2 separate regions of the Homo sapiens genome follow, and region 2 is linked to region 1. Evidence: promoter capture Hi-C in 16 types of primary human blood cells and fetal thymus (Javierre and others, 2016). All regions are on one chromosome and are shown on one strand. Each heading gives the region's core, a stretch centred on a gene start or on the middle of the fragment in contact. The rest is flanking DNA. Distances are from core to core; before and after follow the strand shown.

Region 1 (4,818 bases), core at 24-2,523:
AGAAAAAGCAAACATTTCTAAACTGCTTTACAGTTTTAAAGCATTTTCACATTCATCTCACTTAAGAAAAACACAAAGCACTTGGAATGCCCAGAAAGCCATACGACAACAGGAAGTAAAGTAAGCAGTGCCTCAAGATTCAATACTGGGGCCCTGAATCCTAGTAGTGGGGACTGGGGAGCAGTCGGGAGTCTCTATTTCTGGTTCAGACGGATGGGGAAGCGGTGAGTCATGGGGTGAAGGCTTGCGCCACGGGAAACTTTGGTAAGGTCAAGCTACGAGGCAACAAAAAGTGAATCACAACGCTGGAAAACACCTTAGGCCTCAACAGAGGCCGAACTCTGGCTGACGGATGGGGAAACTGAGGCCTCAAAGGGAAAGCAACTTGCTCAAGTTCACTCAGCAAGTGAATAGAGCAGGAATCGGGGGTCTCATCTCCCCCAGTCCCCTTTTCTCTCCAGCAAGGAGGCTTTTCAACGAGAATTCTGAGACAAGAGGACAGGGGAGAGGCCAAGGGGCAGCTCACAGATTCCACCGAGGAGTCGGGAGAGGGCACAGGTAGGACCAGGAAGCACAGAAATGCTAGGATGGGGGCAGAAATGAGCCGAGGAGGAGGCAGGGGCAGTAGCTAGGCAGGTGGGTGAGGCGAGAAGGAAAAGGCGGAAGAGAAAGGGACAGAGTGAGGGCGGAGGAAAGTGCTGTGAGATTGGGGTCTGAAGGGACCTGGCGGGGTGGAGAGAGGCTGAGGGGAGAGGGCAGAATAAGTCTGACGATGGAAAAGTCCAGGGATCGGGGAGACATTGAAGGGAGTCGGGGAGGGGGTCCCAGACCCGGCAAGAAGTCTGACCCGGAGAGTTCCAGGGTCAGACCAGACCCCGAGGCGAGTCTGATGAAGGTGAAGTCCGGGCCCGGGGAGCCTGGGGGGAGCCCGTGGCAAGTCTGAAGGGGCCGGGCAGCCTCACCGCGCTTGTTTTTGGTGCCGTGCTTCTTGGCGGCCGTCAGCTCCTGCTCGATTTTCTTCTCCAGGAACTCCTGTTTCTTGCTTAACATCTCTTCCGTGTCCCGCAGCCGCTGGATGGCCTCCTGGGGGGTCGGGCCGCCCTTGCCGGCCTTACCCCCTCCAGCCCCGAACAGCTTCCCGAACACCGACATGGTTGCTGCTCGCCGCGCCGGCCTTCGCCGCCCGCTCCGGCTCGGCTCGGCTCGGCTCGGCTCGGGTCGGCTCCGGCGCCCGCTCCCAGTCCCGCCGCTCCCTGCCGCCGCAGGCCTCTCCTCCGCCTCCGCCTCCGCCCCGCAGCTGGGCCCGGCCGCGCCACCTCCCACAGGCCCCCACGCCCGGCCCGGCAGGCGTCAGGGCAACGCGCCACTGACTACAACTCCCAGTGGGCAACGCGCCGGCCGCGCCTCAAATCTAATAGGGGGAAGCGTGCTGCATGCCGGGAAGCTATAGTCTTCCGGCTTCAGGCGCTCCCCGGCGCGTCTTTTGCTGTAGCTGGGGTCAAAGGGCGTGTGGCATTCTGGGAAATGTAGTCTCCTTGGCCTGCGCTCTGTAGGAGTGGCAGAACAGTAAGAGAAATGACAGTAAGTGTGCAACACTGCTCAAAAATTTATTGCTAGTATGGGATACTGCCATGCTTGAACTTCACATGTATATTCATGTGAAGTTGTCTTAAAAGCGTGAAGGCAACAGTTGTTTCCAATTTCAACCTGTCAATTCTGTGGTCACAGAAGCAAAGCAGTATCTTCTCCAGTTAAGTACGGTAGTGTCCCCCTTATCTGAGATTTTACTTTGAGTAGTTTCACTTGGCCAGCTAAGGTCTGACAGTATTAAATAGAAAATTCCAGAAATAAACAGTTCATAAGTTTTTAATTTCCATTGGCCTAATGAAATCTCGTGCTATCCTGTTCCATCCTACCTGCAATGTGAATCATCCCTTTGTCCAACATACCTCTACCATCTGTTAGTTACTTACCAGCTTAGGAGTTATCAGATGGACTGCCACGGTGTTGCAGTGCTTTGGTTCGAGTAACCCTCATTTTACTATATAATGGCCCCAAAGTGCAAGAGTAGTAATGCTGGCAGTTTGGATATGCCAAAATGAAGCTGTAAAGTGCTTCCTTTAAATGTAAATGTGGAAGTTCTGAGCTTAAGAAAAAAAATCGTATGCTGAGCTTACTGAGGTCTGCAGTAAGAACGAATCTTCTAGCCCTAGAATTGTGAAAGAGGAAAAAGAAATTCATGCTGGTTTTGCTGTCGTACCTCAAACTGCAAAAGTTACAGCCACAGTGTGTGATAAGTGCTTAGTTAAGATAGAAAAGGCATTAAGTTGTATCCTTACTTACAGGGGAAAAAAAGAAAATAAATTTTTTTACAAAAGAAAAGAAAAAGCATTAAGCTTATACGTGGAAGACACGAACAAAAAATGTGTTCCAACTGACAGCAACCTGTTACCCCCCAGAAAGCATTGAGCCTGTATAAAGGCTTCAGCAAGGAATCTCCTAAAACCAGTGGCACCAAGCCACTTACTGAAAGTAATGGATGGTTGCACTGACTTAGGAATAGGTTTAGACTGCAAAATATAAAAATTACTGGATGGGCTGGGCACAGTGGCTCACACCTGTAATCTCAGCACTCTGGCAGGCCTAGGCGGATGGATCACCTGAGGTCAGGAGTTTGAGACCAGCCTGGCCAACGTGGTGAAACCCCATCTCTACTAAAAATAAAAAATAAAAATAAAAAAATTAGCTGGGCGTGGTGGCGCACGCCTGTAATCCCAGCTACTTGGGAGGCTGAGGCAGGAGAATCACTTGAACCTGAGAGGCAGAGGTTGCAGTAAACTGAAATCGTGCTATTGCACTCCAGCCTGGGCGAAAAGAGCAAAATTCTGTCTCAAAAAGAAAAAAAAAATTACTGGAGCCGGGCGCGGTGGCTCACGCCTGTAATCCCAGCACTTTGGGAGGCCAAGGCGGGCGGATCACGAGGTCAGGAGATCGAGACCATCCTGGCTAACAAGGTGAAACCCCGTCTCTACTAAAAATACAAAAAATTAGCCTGGCATGGTGGCGGCGGGTGCCTGTAGTCCCAGCTACTCTGGAGGCTGAGGCAGGAGAATGGCGTGAACCCAGGAGGCAGAGCTTGCAGTGAGCCGAGATTGCGCCACTGCACTCCAGCCTGGGCGACAGAGAGAGACTCCGTGTCAAAAAAAAAAAAAAAAAAAAGGCCGGGCGCGGTGGCTCATGCCTGTAATCCCAGGACTTTGGGAGGCCGAGGCGGGCGGATCACGAGGTCAGGAGATCAAGATCATCCTGGCTAACACGGTGAAACTCCATCTCTACTAAAAATACAAAAAAATTAGCCAGGCATGGTGGCACGCGCCTGTAGTCCCAGCTACTCAGGAGGCTGAGGCAGGAGAATGGCGTGAACCCGGGAGGCAGAGCTGGCAGTGAGCCGAGATGGCACCACTGCACTCCAGCCTGGGCAACAGAGCGAGGCTCCGTGTCAAAAAAAAAAAAAAAAGTTACTGGAGGTTGGGTGCGGTGACTCACGCCTGTAATTCCAGCATTTTGGGAGACCAAGGCAGGTGGATCGCTTGAGCCCAGGAGTTGAGGCCAGCCTGGGCAACATGGCGAAACCCCATCCCTACAAAAAATACAAAATTTAGCTGGGCATGATGGCACAGGCCTATAGTCCCAGCTGCTCAGGAGACTGAGCCATGAAGATCATCTGAGCCTGGGAGTTTGAAACTGCAGTGAGCTGTGATCTCACCACTGCACTCGAGCCTGGGTGACAGAGTGAGACCCTGTCACAAATAAATAAATAAATATTACTGGAGAGGCTACAGCAAGACAAGTTGGTGGAGAAGGATTTGGGGACATGCTTGATGAAGAAGTGGAAGATCATATTGAAGGCCACTGGGAAGTGTTAACAAATGTGGAATTGGAAGAACTTGTCAAGTCATCTACAAAGAAAGAGGAAAATGAAGGAGAAACAGAAACAGAACCAGCAATATGGGTGTTATCAAAATTTGCCGAGTGTTTCAAATTGCACAGACATTAAAGGACAAAATTATGGAATTCAATCCTCAGATAGAACACAGCATTAAAACCACTCGTGTGGTCACCAAAGGATTACAACTTCTGCAGCCACACTTCTATGAATTAAAAAGAAAGAGGCCAGGCATAGTGGCTAACACCTGTAATCCTAGGACTTTGGGAGGCCGAGGTGGGCAGATCACTTGAGGCCCGGAGTTTGAGACCAGCCCGGCCATCGTGGTGAAATCCTGTCTCTACTAAAAATACAAAAATTCACCAGGCATGGTGGCGTGCACCTGTAATCCTAGCTACTTGGGAGGCTAAGGCAGAAGAATTGCTTGAACCCAAGAGGCAGAGGTTGCAGTGAGCCGAGATTGCGCCACTGCACTCCAGCCTGGGCGACAGAGACTCTGTCTCAAAAAAAAAAAAAAAAAAAAGAATTAAATAGAAAGAGATGGCCAGGTGCAGCGGCTCACGCTTGTAATCTCAGCACTTTGGGATGCTGAGGTAGGCGGGTCACTCGAGCTCACAGGTTTGAGACCAGCCTGGGCAACATGGTGAAACCTCATCTCTACAAAAAATGCAAAAAACTAGCTGGGTGTGGTGGCGCACACCTGCAGTCCCAGCTACTCAGGAGGCTGAGGTGGGAGGATCACCTGAGCCCAGGAGGTTGAGGCTGCAGTGAGCCATGATCACACCACTGCACTGAAACCTGGGCAACAGACTGAGATGCTATCTCAGAAAAAGAAAGAAAGAGACAACTTCCAGTAATAATGTTCTTCCAAA
Region 2 (4,831 bases), core at 2,023-4,522, 370 kb after region 1:
TCCTAAAGTGCTGGGATTACAGGTGTGAGCCACCGCGCCTGGCCAGAGCTTGCAGAGACTTTAGTAGGCTGGGCAGCTCCCCTCTCTCCCTTTTTTTCCCCTTCCCCCTCTCCTATTCCTTGGGAGTGAACTGGTTTTCTCTGGGAGCTCTGCCTGGGGCTTGGCAGGGAGCCGGGCCTATGTGTATCTATCTGGGAGGCCAATTTCTGAGCCACAGCAGAGAGGCATCGGCTGACCACAGTGTAGGGATAGAGCATTCCTGCAGCTACAGGGTTCTTGGGGGTAGCTACAGGTGATTGGCACTGCCTATCAAGTGTGATCACAAACACACACACCCATACTCACATACAGACGTATACATATGCATACACACGTCACTGTTTCCTTGGCTCTACATCTTCTTTCTGTGTTAGCCCCTTTGCACACATCACTCCTTTCCCTACTTCCTTCCTTCCTGTTATATCCACAGGAAACTGTCCCCCAGAGGAGAAGCCCTCTCTTAGGGCTCTTTCTCAGTAAGTTTGTCTGGGCCTCATTAAGTCTTTTTTAAGCAGGGCAGTACGTGGGGGGACTTTTAAGGATCTGGTTCCAGGCTTTGGTCTTGGGAAAGGAGCTTCAATTCCCTGCTGGTCTCTTGCCTCCTGCCAGGTCTGTCCTCCCCTCCCTTCTCTACCATTGGAGTGAAGCTTCCACAAGCCAAGTAGGCTGTAGTTATTTATCACAAGTGCTTACCCCAAATTCCTCAGGCTGTCCTACAATCTTTAAGCACAGTCATACTTTTAAGATATCAATGCTTATATACAATGCTATATTCCTTCCCTGCCTCCCTTCTCTCCTTCCTTCCTCTCACTTTCTTTTATTTATTTTTGAGACAGGGTCTTGCTCTGTCACCCAGGCTGGAGTGCAGTGGCATGATTGTGGCTCACAGCAGCAGCCTCAAACAGGCCTCCTGCTGCAGCTTCCTAAGTAGCTGGGAGTACAGGTGCACATTACCACGCTTGGCTAATTTCTTTATTTTGTAGAGATGGAGTCTCGTGAAGTTGCCCAAGTGGTCTCAAACTCCTAGCCTCAAGTGATCATTCCTCCTCGGCATCCCATATATATATGTATAAAAGACCCTGGGTTCTTTTTTTAAAACCTGTGTCTCTCCTGTTTTGACACCTACCACTCTAACTTAAAACAATTCCTTTTTTTTGTTGTTGGTTTTTTTTTTTTTTTTTTTTGAGACGGAGTCTCACCCTATCACCCAGGCTGGAGTGCAGTGGTGCAATCTCTGCTTGCTGCAATCTCCGCCTCCCGGGTTCAAGTGATTCTCCTGCCTCAGCCTCCTGAGTAGCTGGGATTATAGGTGTCTGCCACCACGCCCGGCTAATTTTTTTATATTTTTAGTAGAGATGGGGTTTCACCATGTTGGCCAGGCTGAGTCTCAAACTCCTGACCTCGTGATCTACCTGCCTCGGCCTCCTAAAGTGCTGGGATTACAGGCATGAGCCACCATACCTGGCCCCCTCTTTTTTTTCTTGATGGTATCTTATGTGGAGGATTTTACCCAAAAGTTCAGGGAGGCTAAACACTGGTGTAGTCCTACTTATTTATTGCTCAACATATCCCAGCTAGGAATGGAGGATAGAGACAAGGAGCAGGTATGAAGGCCAGTTGAGCTGTGTGATGTGGTGGATTTTTCAGATTACAATCATGCTTTACCTCTGTATTTGTCAGCTGTCTAGCAGAGTGGTTCAGTGCCCAGGCACTGGTGTCAAACAGGCCTGGGTTTGAATCGCAGCTCTTCCTCACTCATAAATGTGTGACCTAGGCCAATTAGACTAAATCCAAGTTTTCCCTTCTGTATAATAGGGGTGCTCTTTTTTCTTGCTCTGTCACCAAGGCTGGAGTGTGATGGTGCAATCACAGCTCACTGCAGCCTGGACCTCCAAGGCTCAAGCGATCCTGCCACCTCAGCTGTGATTACAGGTGTGAGCCACTGTGCCCAGCTGGGGGTGCTCTTAGCTACTCCAGGAGGCTAATGTAAAGATAACACTTGGAAAATATTCTGCCAGCCCTAGGTAAGAGTAAGCATTCACTAAATGAAAGTGATTATTTCTATAGAATAGGGAGTCACAGTTTACCACGTGTTTTCACATTGATTTAATCCTCACACCAGCCCAGTGAAGTAGGTATTATTATGATCCACATTTTACAGATGAGGAAATTGAGGCCTAGAGCAGTGACGTGAGGGGACCAAAGTCGACTTGGAGCTAACAGAGGCAGCAAAGATTAGAAACCATGTCTCCAGTCGCCCAGACCCAGAGCCCCACCTTGCAACCCTCTTCCCACACACCAGTTCTGTTTTTTTTCTGCCAGGCCTCAAAGTGTGGGACTTCAGGCTTTTCTATACTCGACTGTGAACACAGCCAGGGGTTAATCTCTTAAACTTCCCTCCAGTTTTGAAGTGGGGATCCTGCCCACACCTCCCCCAAGCCCTAAGCGGTGTCGGTAGCGGTCTCCTCCAGGGGGCGGGGCCTGTCATCTTTAGAAGCCACGCCAGCGATAAGCCACGCCCACAGACCAAAGCCTCGACCCCCACCCCCCATCCCCCGCCCTCCCCGATAGGAAACCAACTTCTTCCTCAGCTCCCCAACTAGCAACTGTGCCCGCAAGGTCTCTCGCGGCTCAGCATCTACCTTTTTTTTTTTTTTTTTTTTTTGACACAGGGTTTCGCTCTGTCACCCAGGCTGGAGTGCAGTGGCGCGATCGCGGCTTACTGCAGCCTCGAGCTTCTGGGCTGTCATCTAGGCCTCCCAAAGTGTTGGGATTACAGGCGTGAGCCTCCACGCCCAGACGGTGTCTACCTCTTAAACTCAAGCCTTGGAGTCCAACGCTCTACCATACGCAGCCCAGCCCTCCGCCATATGCAGCCCAGCCCGATGCCCAGTGCTTCGCACCAGGATACGTGGTTCTGTCTCTTTTTCATGCGCTCCCACGTCCGGGAGTTACAGTCCCGGCCCTCGATGGGCATTCCGAGCGCCGAGCCCCCTGCGCGGGCTCACTGGGTTCCGCCCCCGACGCGAAGCCCCGCCCCCTGACGCCCCGCCCAGCACCACGCCTCCCGGGCTTTCGCCTTACTTAGTGGCCCGCCCCGCCGCCCTTCTGACCCACCCCGCTAGGTAGTCCCACACGGCGGCCCTCGGCTCCCGGGCCCCGCCCCGGCCTCCTGCATTTGCCCGAGGCCCCCTCCCCAGCACTGGCCACACCCCAGGGTAGCCCCGCCCCCAGAGCTCCTCCCCCAGCGGCCGGGGTAGGGTGGCGGCTGGCCCAGCCGGGCCCCCGCTGCCCTCTGCCCTGGGCGCTTGGTCGGAGCGGGCTGGGCAAAGCGGGACAGGGCGAGCGCGGCGGCCCGGGGGCTCGGAGGCGAAGATGGCGTCCGGCAGGCGCGCCCCGCGCACCGGGCTGCTGGAGCTGCGCGCCGGGGCGGGCTCGGGGGCCGGCGGCGAGCGATGGCAGCGGGTGCTGCTGAGTCTGGCGGAGGACGTGCTGACCGTGAGCCCCGCCGACGGCGACCCTGGTCCCGAGCCCGGCGCTCCGCGGGAGCAGGAGCCCGCGCAGCTCAACGGCGCCGCGGAGCCGGGCGCCGGGCCCCCGCAGCTGCCAGAGGCGCTACTGCTCCAGCGGCGCCGCGTGACGGTGCGCAAGGCCGACGCCGGTGGGCTGGGCATCAGCATCAAAGGTGGGCGCGGGACACCGAGGGCGCGGGGTCGTGGTGTCTGGGGGCAGCCGAGGGCGCAGGGGGCTGGCAGCGCGCCCAGGACATGGAGCTGGAGGCTTCCTGTCTGGGGGTAAGGGGGGTCTGAGGAAACAGGTAACGGAGGGCACTGGGCACACCAAGGTTGGAGGGGGTTTCAGTAGTTGGTGGCCTTAGGGGGCACGGAAGACACAGGTGTGGATAAGATTGTGGGAGCACCAAGGACACGTGGGTGGGAGTTCTGTGTGGAGGCGGGGGGGTCTGAGGGGTAACCAGCATGAACATCAAGGACAAGAGGGGTCCCCCGGAAAGCAGAGTGTGGAGAAAGGGGGTTGAGGCCGGGACACCAGTGGGACAGGGAGGAGGGAGTCCCTGAGAAGCAACCAAGGTGGGTGCAGAGGGGAAGCCTGGAGTCTGGGAAGCACAGGGGTGGATAGGAGGCCTGGGTGCAGGCACAGGCTGGGGTCACAGGCAGAAGGCCAGCAAGGACCTAGGAATCTAAGGACCCAGGAAGGCTGCAGGGAGCCCTGACAGCTGGATTTGGGTCTCCTGATCTGACTATCTCCACCTTGCACAGGATAGAGCTTTCAGCCCCCAGGACTGACCGCTAGTGGGGTGCAGTTAGGGTGCAACCAGACTGTGTTTGAATCCAGGATCAGCTGTGTGAGGTTGCAAAAGTCCCGTCCCGCCTCTGAATCTGTTTCCTCAACTGTATAAGAGGATGACAGAGTTGTGATGTTTCTGAGAGCAGGGCTCACCACACCAGCACACTGTAGGTGCCTAGTTAATTACTGCTGTTAGCGGAGAGGAAAAATGGAGGCCAGCAGATACTCCCAAAGCAACTAAACATAGTTGTTAAAATCCTTGCACACCCCCAGCTGCTGGGTTCACTATTCCTGCCCATCTGTTTCTCAGGGTCCCAGCCCCCAGCAGGTGCTTTGGGAAAGGGTATCAGCCTTTGTCTCCACCTTGAATACATACCGTACCCTCTGGGGTCTCCCTGGTACTGGTTCTGTTGACTAGTGCCTCCAGACCGTTTGGCTTGGCTGAGGCGGTGGGGATGGTGGTGAATGCCACCACTGTGTGCCAGGT

Evidence for each region. Contacts are between HindIII fragments. The CHiCAGO score rates a contact against its expected background, and 5 or more counts as called.
Region 2: the fragment with the promoter of SNTA1 here is called in contact with the fragment with the promoter of CHMP4B in region 1 in 2 of 17 cell types (monocytes and total CD8 T cells); the score reaches 5.1 in monocytes.

What each region holds. Positions count from the first base shown.
Region 1 is chr20:33,807,803-33,812,620 of GRCh38, reverse strand. It overlaps CHMP4B (charged multivesicular body protein 4B), which reads right to left and starts at 1,273. Exons shown (of 5, transcript NM_176812.5): 1 at 963-1,273. The coding sequence starts at 1,152. ZNF341-AS1 (ZNF341 antisense RNA 1) reads left to right here and starts at 1,522. Exons shown (of 4, transcript NR_110623.1): 1 at 1,522-1,581. RefSeq lists enhancers at 1-49, 1-718, 1,485-1,564, 1,304-1,598 and a silencer at 1,145-1,424. The HindIII fragment of the contact is 5,812 bases long and covers 1-2,398 here.
Region 2 is chr20:33,442,204-33,447,034 of GRCh38, reverse strand. It overlaps SNTA1 (syntrophin alpha 1), which reads left to right and starts at 3,272. Exons shown (of 8, transcript NM_003098.3): 1 at 3,272-3,724. The coding sequence starts at 3,415. RefSeq lists enhancers at 2,267-2,326, 2,298-2,798, 2,777-2,846 and silencers at 3,077-3,556, 3,667-3,726. The HindIII fragment of the contact is 9,847 bases long and covers 689-4,831 here.